3 separate regions of the Homo sapiens genome follow, and all the other regions are linked to region 3. Evidence: promoter capture Hi-C in 16 types of primary human blood cells and fetal thymus (Javierre and others, 2016). All regions are on one chromosome and are shown on one strand. The core of a region is centred on a gene start or on the middle of the fragment in contact, and the rest is flanking DNA. Distances in the headings are between cores, read along the strand shown.

The links. The method cuts DNA at HindIII sites, captures the fragments that hold promoters and counts their contacts. A CHiCAGO score of 5 or more calls a contact.
Region 1: a fragment that was not itself captured here is called in contact with the fragment with the promoter of DEDD2 in region 3 in 7 of 17 cell types (naive B cells, total B cells, naive CD4 T cells and 4 more); the score reaches 8.8 in naive B cells.
Region 2: a contact is called between a fragment that was not itself captured here and the fragment with the promoter of DEDD2 in region 3, in 7 of 17 cell types (monocytes, total CD8 T cells, fetal thymus and 4 more). The highest score is 7.9, in monocytes.

What each region holds. Positions count from the first base shown.
Region 1 is chr19:42,158,675-42,161,374 of GRCh38, forward strand. It overlaps a transcript of POU2F2 not described here. Among named protein-coding and RNA genes, the nearest start is that of POU2F2-AS2, 7.5 kb to the left of the region's middle. The HindIII fragment of the contact is 1,185 bases long and covers 808-1,992 here.
Region 2 is chr19:42,179,499-42,182,198 of GRCh38, forward strand. It overlaps a transcript of POU2F2 not described here. Among named protein-coding and RNA genes, the nearest start is that of POU2F2-AS2, 28 kb to the left of the region's middle. The HindIII fragment of the contact is 7,957 bases long and covers 1-2,700 here.
Region 3 is chr19:42,216,411-42,219,110 of GRCh38, forward strand. It overlaps DEDD2 (death effector domain containing 2), which reads right to left and starts at 1,267. Exons shown (of 5, transcript NM_133328.4): 1 at 1,222-1,267; 2 at 270-635. The coding sequence starts at 597. RefSeq lists silencers at 398-603, 685-744, 755-854 and enhancers at 1,626-2,502, 2,503-2,700. The HindIII fragment of the contact is 12,709 bases long and covers 1-2,700 here.

The DNA of each region.
Region 1 (2,700 bases), core at 150-2,649, 58 kb before region 3:
CACCCACATGTCCATGAAATCATGGATATTTAATGAACATCTATTTGAAGACAAATAATTGAAATCATAGACCTAACAGTGACCTCTACCAACTGGAAACATAATTAAACCCCTCTGTTACTTCAGCCCAACTTTCAGACGTTCCTCAAAGCCAGTCTCTAGCTCCCAAACTAATTCTGCAACCTGGAAATTCCTTGACTCTCTTTTCGAGGATGTGAGGATTCCTGGAAAAACTGCAACTTCGGTTCCCTGGAGAAAGCACTCTAGAGAAATGACACATCCTGGAACAAACACTCTCAGCGATAACAGGGGTCCATGAATGAGCTTCAGGGGGTCTGTGATCATCCCAAAGTGTAGCACAACTGGGCAAATGTAGGTATGTGTTTTCCTGGGAGAAGCTCTATACTGTTGTGAAACTAGGTATCTATGGGCCAAAGGTTGCCTGAAATATGTTGTTTGGACCACGAGGAGATTTTGCAAGTTTTGCATTAGTTGCCAACATTTAAAGATTGGAAGACTTCACACACAAGTCTGGGTTCCTGGCTTCTCTTGAAAAATCAGAAACCCTGGCAAGTCAGGGTTGCATCTGTGCATGAGAACAGTCAGTGGAGCTAAAAAGCAGTCCCCCACCCCATGCATTTTTCAGTCCATCATAGTCCCTACAATGCTGGGTTGCAAACCCTGGGCTACAGCTTCCATCTGCTTCTTAAAATGAGACTGTGATTCCTGGTACAGCAAAGGACTCCTACCCAGGAGTCCTACAAGGGCACCCAAAGGCCTCCCTGGGGTCCTGAGACCTGTGGGTTAAGCTTCTCTGGTGGGAATAGGGGTGGCAGTAGAGGGCTGTCCCACCCCAGAAGCCCTGTCCACCCTCCTCCCTAGATGCTCATTGCCAGGGCCTCACCAAGCAAGCTGGAGCAAACACCAGGGCAAATGGCCAGAGCCCCTGCTTCCCACAGAGGTGAGCAGCAGGAGAACTATGGCTTCTACCTGGGAGTCTCAGTGGGCTTCAGGGAGGGGCTTCATAAAACCTTCTTTGTTCAGGGGAACGCTTCCAGCCATATTTTGAGCTCCCACTTCCTGCAGCCACACGATTTCAAGGAATAAGTACTTTCATCTTCACGCCACCTCCATGTGGTAAATGCTATTAATTACCCTCCTTTGACAGATGGGGAAACTGAGCCATGCCCAGGATCACTCAGCCACCTGGCTCTTCTTCCTCTATCTCCTTTTGCTCTCAGGATGGCACTTAAGGTGGGTTCTATTAGTATTCCCATTTACAGACAAGGAAATGGAAGCTCAAACTTTCCCAAGTCCCTCGAAGTCAGGAAAAGAGATTCGAACATAGGTGTGCTTGAACCCAAAGCTGTGATCTGAGCCACCGAGTTACCCCCATCTCTCTCCTACTGAGCCGTAACACTGATCAGCAGAAACACCCACAGTCATCAACACCAAGAACCACTGGTTTGGCCCGAAAGCCACAGGATGCATGGAGGGTGAGAACAAAGCAGTCAGATTCTAACCTCTGGGTGGGCAGAGTGGAGAAGGGCAGCAACACACCCAGGGTGAGGCCAGAGACGAGGATGGGAAAGCAGAGACTTCTGTGAGAAACCAGAAGGTGCATCAATAAGCAAAACTCTAAGGCCGTGGTCCTTACCTCTTGGGCAGACGCAGCGAAGCTAATACATTCAGGCCACCAACCCGGTCCAGTCGAGAACCTGGAGAGAGAGGAGAATGCAGTCAACATCCCGGAGAATTCCCCATCCTCATGCAGGATGATGCACTCCTCCAGTGGAGGAACCCTCCTCCTGTCACATCATCAGGAGCTGCAGTTGGCTAACTGTGGAGTCAGGTGCCTGGAACTCAGGTCCAGTCAGCCACTTGTTGCCTTCAGTAGTCACTTCTGGCCTCTGAGCCTCTGTGTCCCCAACTCATAAATGGGCATACTAGTGCCTGCCACTGTGGAACATCTGTTTTTCCCATCAGACTGGAAGCTTCTTAAAGTGCAGGGACTGTAACTGTGTCTTGAAGCTTTTGTGTTTGGCAGAGGGCCTGGCAAATTTGAGATGCTCAATTAGTGCATAACGGACGACGGAGTGAATGGATGGGTGGATGGAGGAATTAACTGATTAAATGGTGTATCTCAAAGGACTGCTACGAGGAACAAATGAGAAAGAAATTTGAAAAGGTTACTCATTATTAAGTTCCTATGTGCTCTGGGGAGATTAAAAATAAAAGTCATAATGATATTTCTGACTTGTACATTTGTCCATTCATTTGTGCATTTAGTTCATCAACAAATATTGAGATTTCTCTGGCTCTGAATCAAGTGTGGCAGGGGACAGAGATGAATTAGACAAGGTCTCTGCTCTATTACGGGGCTCACAGGCAAGTTGAGGAGACAGAAGGAAGAGCCAATGCCAACATGCTGGGGTAAGCAGAGGGTGCTGCGGGCATCCTGGGTGAGATCACAGAAGACTTAGGGAGGAAACAACACCCAAGCCAAACCTGGAAGACAAATTTTAATCAGAGAAAGAACCAGGTGCAAGGAACGAGAGAATGCCAGGACTTTGCCTGTCCAGGGTTCAGTAAGAAAAATGGGGAAAGACGAGGCTTCCAGATTGCAGGGGCTGCTCCCTGCAGGGCGTCAAGTGCCTGGTCCAAGCAGCCAGGGCTTCGTCAGAGAGGGAGAGGGATACA
Region 2 (2,700 bases), core at 146-2,645, 37 kb before region 3:
GTGTGAGAGGGAGGGAACAGGAGGGGGAAGGCAGGGAGGGAAAGGGAGGAGGAGGAGGAGGACGCAGGCACGCGCTGCGCGGTCTTGGCTTAGCAGCTGCAACCGCCCTTCGCTTTGTTACCAGCAAGGCTACCCCATGCATACTGAGTGGACACGCGGGACCCTCATGTGTGTGTGAGAAACACGAGAATCACCAACTGCCCACGTGTATGGAGAACGCTCCCAAGACCTACACTGGAAGTGCGTAACATAAATAAATATAGGAAACACCTACCCCGTGGGCGTACAAAGTAAGTACCCAGGACCTGTGCAGCGTGTGCATAATAGACACAGAACTACCTACTACTCCCTGTACGGAGCAGCCTCCTGGGACCCGCACTGTGTGCGCAACACAAATAAATGCAAGGAATACTACCCTCTGTCCATACAAAGTAGGTATTTGGGTCTTATGCAGCAGATGCATAATGGACATGGGACCACTTAATACCCCCATACAGAGCAGACTCCTGGGATCCACACAGTGTGTTCACAACACAAATAAATACAGGAAACGCCCACTCCAACTGCACACAAACTAGGCACATGGGCCTACAGGGCATGAACATAGTGGACACGGAACCACCCCATAGCCACCTACCAACCAGCCTCCCTGGGACCCATACTGTGTGGGCACAACATAAATGAATGCAGGAAGTACCCTATCCCCCATGCCTACAAAGCTGGCACACCAACCTAATAGACTTAGCTAGTGTGAACATAAGAGACACCCATGAGCAGGTTCTGGTGATCCACAAAGGCACATAACAAAACTGAACATAAGAAACACCCACTCCGCTTGCATACAAAGGCACATGGGGTCCCAATAGTGAGGAGAGAACTCAAAAAAGGGTGTATATAATGACAACCCACACACTATCCATTCTGGAAGGAGCAACAAGGAATACTGGACCCTGCAATGAATCTACCCAGCAGACTCCCAGGTCCCTCCATCTGTACGTGTACAATAGACCTAGGAGGAGCTATGGACAGCCTGAGTACCTACTAGAAGGGAAGCAGGGACAGGGCAGAGACCAAGGATGTCCTGTTCCCTGCCTTGGCCCTGGCACCTACAAGGACCAGTACATGGGTGGGGTGGGGGGCGGTCATCCTTCCTAAGAATGACCAAGTACATAATAATTGTGTATACAGTGAGTATACACTAAGCACACAGCACCAATGTTTGTCTGTTTGTTTGTTTGTTTGTTTTGAGACAGGGTCTCCCTCTGTCACCCAGGCTGGAGTGCCGCAGCGTGATCATGGCTCACTGTAGCCTCAAACTCCTGGGCTCAAGCAATCCCCTCTTGCCTCAGCCTCCCAAGTAGCTGGGACTACAGGCATGCACCACCACACCCATCTATTTTTTTTTTTTTTAAGCAGAGATGAGGTCTCCATATGTTCCCCAGGCTAAAGCACCAATTTTAAGGATCCAAAAAACTTGGTTTGATATGTGCTAAGTCCATATCATATGCTTACTTGCCAGTATGTTAAGAGTCTGTGGTCCACAACCTATGCATGATTGGTATCTTAATTATCCAGAATATCCATATTAAGCAGAAGCTGACATCCCTCATGGACTTACAAAAGTCAGATCCAATAGGAGACTTAAGCAATCCGCACATGCAGGTTGTCCTAACTGATTTCTAGGGCTCCGCCCAGCCCCGAGTCATGATTCCACGAAGGCTGATGCAGCACATGTATACACACCAGGCACATGCAAAGACGTACACCATACACTGTACACAACACAGCAAAAACATGTGTGCTCTCTCTGCTTCTGAAATAGCATAATTCCAGAAGTACCAGATTCCTCTGAGGAATGTGTGTGTGTGCATGTCTGAGTGAGGGCCATCTCTGGGTACAGGTGTGCATGTACATGGCTCTTCCTGTACGAATGAGCTCAGCTCTTATTCCCTCCTCATTCTGCCTGTTCATCTTTCAGAAACATGTATACAAATAATAGTACCTGATGTATACTAAGTACAAAACATTGCAAGCTATGGATGACCTTAATTGAGTGTGTGCGTCTGAACATACATTTATTTATTTATTTATTTATTTATTTATTTAGAGACAGAGCCTTGCTTTGTCACTCAGGCTGGACTGCAGTGGCACAATCTCGGCTCTCTGCAACCTCTGCCTCCCGGGTTCAAGCTATTCTCCTGCCTCAGCCTCCCGAGTAGCTGGGATTACAGGCGCATGCCACCATGCCCAGCTAATTTTTGTATTTTTTAGTAGAGACGGGGTTTCACCATGTTGGTCAAGCTGGACTCAAACTCCTGACCTGGTGGTCCACCCACCTCGGCCTCCCAAAGTGCTGGGATTACAGGCGTGAGCCAACACTCCCGGCCTTGAACATACCTTTAGATAGATGCATTTGTTCATTAATGAAACATTTGTTCGCGCATCTGTGGCCATGTGTGTGCGTGTGTGTACATCTTGGTGTCTTGGTTACAAGTCTTGGGGCTCCCTTATAATCTCTGAGGATAAAGGGTGTAAGATAAGGGAAACGAAGGCACACAAAGCAGGAAGGGAAGAAACTGGGGAGAAGGAAAAAAGTGGTGCAAGGACAAGGAGCAAAAAGAAGAGACCTGTTATTCAGGAGGCTGAGGCACAAGAATCACTTGAACTCAGGAGGCAGAGGTTGCAGTAAGCCAAGATTGT
Region 3 (2,700 bases), core at 17-2,516:
TAGTTCATATGAAGGGCTGACAGCTGTGCCTGGCATGAAACAAGCCCTCCGTAAACAGTGGCCAAAATCATCATCACTGATGTGGCCAAATTCCCAAAGCCATGCTTTCTTCCTCTTATGTTGCTCATTGATATTGTGGGAAGAGAGAGTAGCAGAATGGGACATAAGCTGCCTGATATGGCACTGTCCGTATCAGGGCACCAGGGAGGCCCAGCGGGAGCCAGGCCCTTTCCTCCCAGGAAGTGTGACACCCTCCCATTCAACCGTACCTGGCCGGCGCCGCTTGCGCGCCAGGTGCGGCAGCAGGTCGTGGCGGGCCAGCACGCGCAGGAGTTGCCCCAGCAGCCGCAGGTTGCTCTCGTCGCACTGCCCGCGGCGCTCCAGCTCCAGCAGGAGCTCTAGGCCGCTGCGGGCCCGGGCTAAGCCTCCGGCGGCGCCAGGAGCCTCATCCAGCAGAAAGGCCAGGAGCTCCAGCTCGCACTCGGTCAGTTGCCCGCCCACCACCTCGAACATACGGTGAAGCGACAGCATCCCGTAGTAGTCCAGGCACTCATCCTCCTCCCAGCACGGGGCCGGGGTCGACCCGGATAGCGCCATTCCCGGGGGAGGGAGGCGGAACAAGCTCAGAACCCGGCCTAGAACCCACACAGCGGGGAGGGGGCAGTGGTCAGCGACGCGGAGGCCCGAACCCCACACCGCCAGCGCGTCTCCCCCGCCCAATCGCGCCGGGCAGGGCCGCTCCCGCACCCCCAACCGCCTCGGCCTCCCCCTCCCCCGGGAGGGAATGGTCCCGCCCGAGGTCCCCTAAGAACAGGTCGGGACGCCGGAGCCCGCTCGGCTTCTGCCCCCACCACCGTGCTACGTTCGGAGCTCGCCTCCGGACCTGACCAAACGATGCGGCCCAAACAAGCCTCGGGGCCCACCCCGGGGCTCCCTGCTGACTGCCCCTGACTCTGGGTAGGACTGCCCAGACGAGCCCCTTTTCTCCGTCCAGCGGTACCGTCTGATGAGTCCCCCGGCTCTACGCAAGTGGTACCTCCCGAAAGTGACCCTCTGCCCCCTACACAGAGGAGCGACCCAGGCAGCCCCTTTGCTCCACACAGGTGGTACCGTCCGAACCCGACCCCCTCGCCCTGCAAGGGCGGCCCCGCCCGCTCCCCAGAGCCCAGGTGGTCCTGTCTACCCGCCACCAGTCACCATTAGGCCTCTCTGGATCCTCACCAGATTCTGGCGTCCGATGACTCCTGGGCGACGGCCGCAGCCACTTGTTTTGGATCTTTCTGGCACCTTCTCTATTATTACGCCTGCGTCACCTCGCCCCTCCTCCTTCCCCCAACTCGCGCAGGTGCGACCGCCACGCCCCTTCGGCGCATGCGCAGAACGAGGCCTCCAAGCCCCGCCCTTCCTGGGCCGCTTGACCTGCCCCCAACCGAAGCATCTTGGTTCGCGAGTGCTGCGCTTGCGCAGAGCGAGAGCACGCCGCCTCTTGGGCTGTATCTGGTACCCGGTTCCAGGTCCCTACTTCCTGCCCGTGACTCAAGCCACCGGGGCCATGTAGCGCCACGTCACGAGTAGTTGTAACTACTCATCTCATAAACTACAGCCCCCTCCTGATCACGAGCTAGACGCCCACATCACCACTGCCCCTAGTTGCCCGTGGCAAAGTAACACAATCACTACTTTCCCGTCTCCCAGTAAACTCCCAGGCCTTATATGATCTGGTCCTGGGCACTCCTCCATTAGATTGTCCCTCACTTCTAGTGACAACCAGGGATCTACATCTCAACTGTGCTCTCTCGTGATCCCAAATGGAAATCCCGCCCCCCCACCACCACCCCCGCAGTCTATAAGTTCCTTCCCCTGATCAAAACCAGAATTCCCTCATCTCACGTTCAGGACGGATACCTCCTTCCAAGCGGCAACAGAACCCTCCATTCCGACTGTGTACATCTCGATGGCGTCCATCACGACCCCCATCACAGTCAGATGTCTCCACCCAGAGCCAAAACGGCCCCTCCGTAACCCCTTCCAATCTCTGCCCTCCAGGGTCGCCCAGATACCCGCTCCCTAACTTGCAACAACTAGAGAGGGTCTGTCAGGGAGTCTAGGCTGTGGTGTATGCGTGTCCCCTTACCGCGGGGCCTTGGGTGTGACGGTCGCCACGCCCCCCACTTAGGTGACTCAAGGTCAGGACCTGCATGTACTTGAGACAAGTCCCCTCCCTGGACCTCTTCCCACCCCCGCAATTAACTCCTCTTGGGAGTCGGGAGATCTGGGTCCTGCCTAGCACTGGCCCAGTACTGGCTCTGCCTGAGCTGTAGCAGTGAATTCAAAAGAATCGGCTGCGCGCGGTAGCTCACGTCTGTAATCCCAGCACTTTGAGAAGCCGAGGTGGGCGGATCACACGAGGCCAGGAGTTCGAGACCAGCCTGGCCAACATGATGAAACCCTGTCTGTTCTTAGCCGGATGTGGTGGCACGCGCCTGAAATCCCAACTACTTGGGAGGCTGAGACAAGAGAATCTCTTGAACCAGGGAGCAGTAAGCAGAGATAGTGCCACTGCACTCCAGCCTGGGCCACAGGGCGAGACTTTGTCTCAAGAAACAAACAAACGCCAGGTGCGGTGGCTCACGCCTGCATTCCCAGCACTTTGGGAGGCCGAGGCGGGCGGATCACCTGAGGTCGGGAGTTCGAGACCAG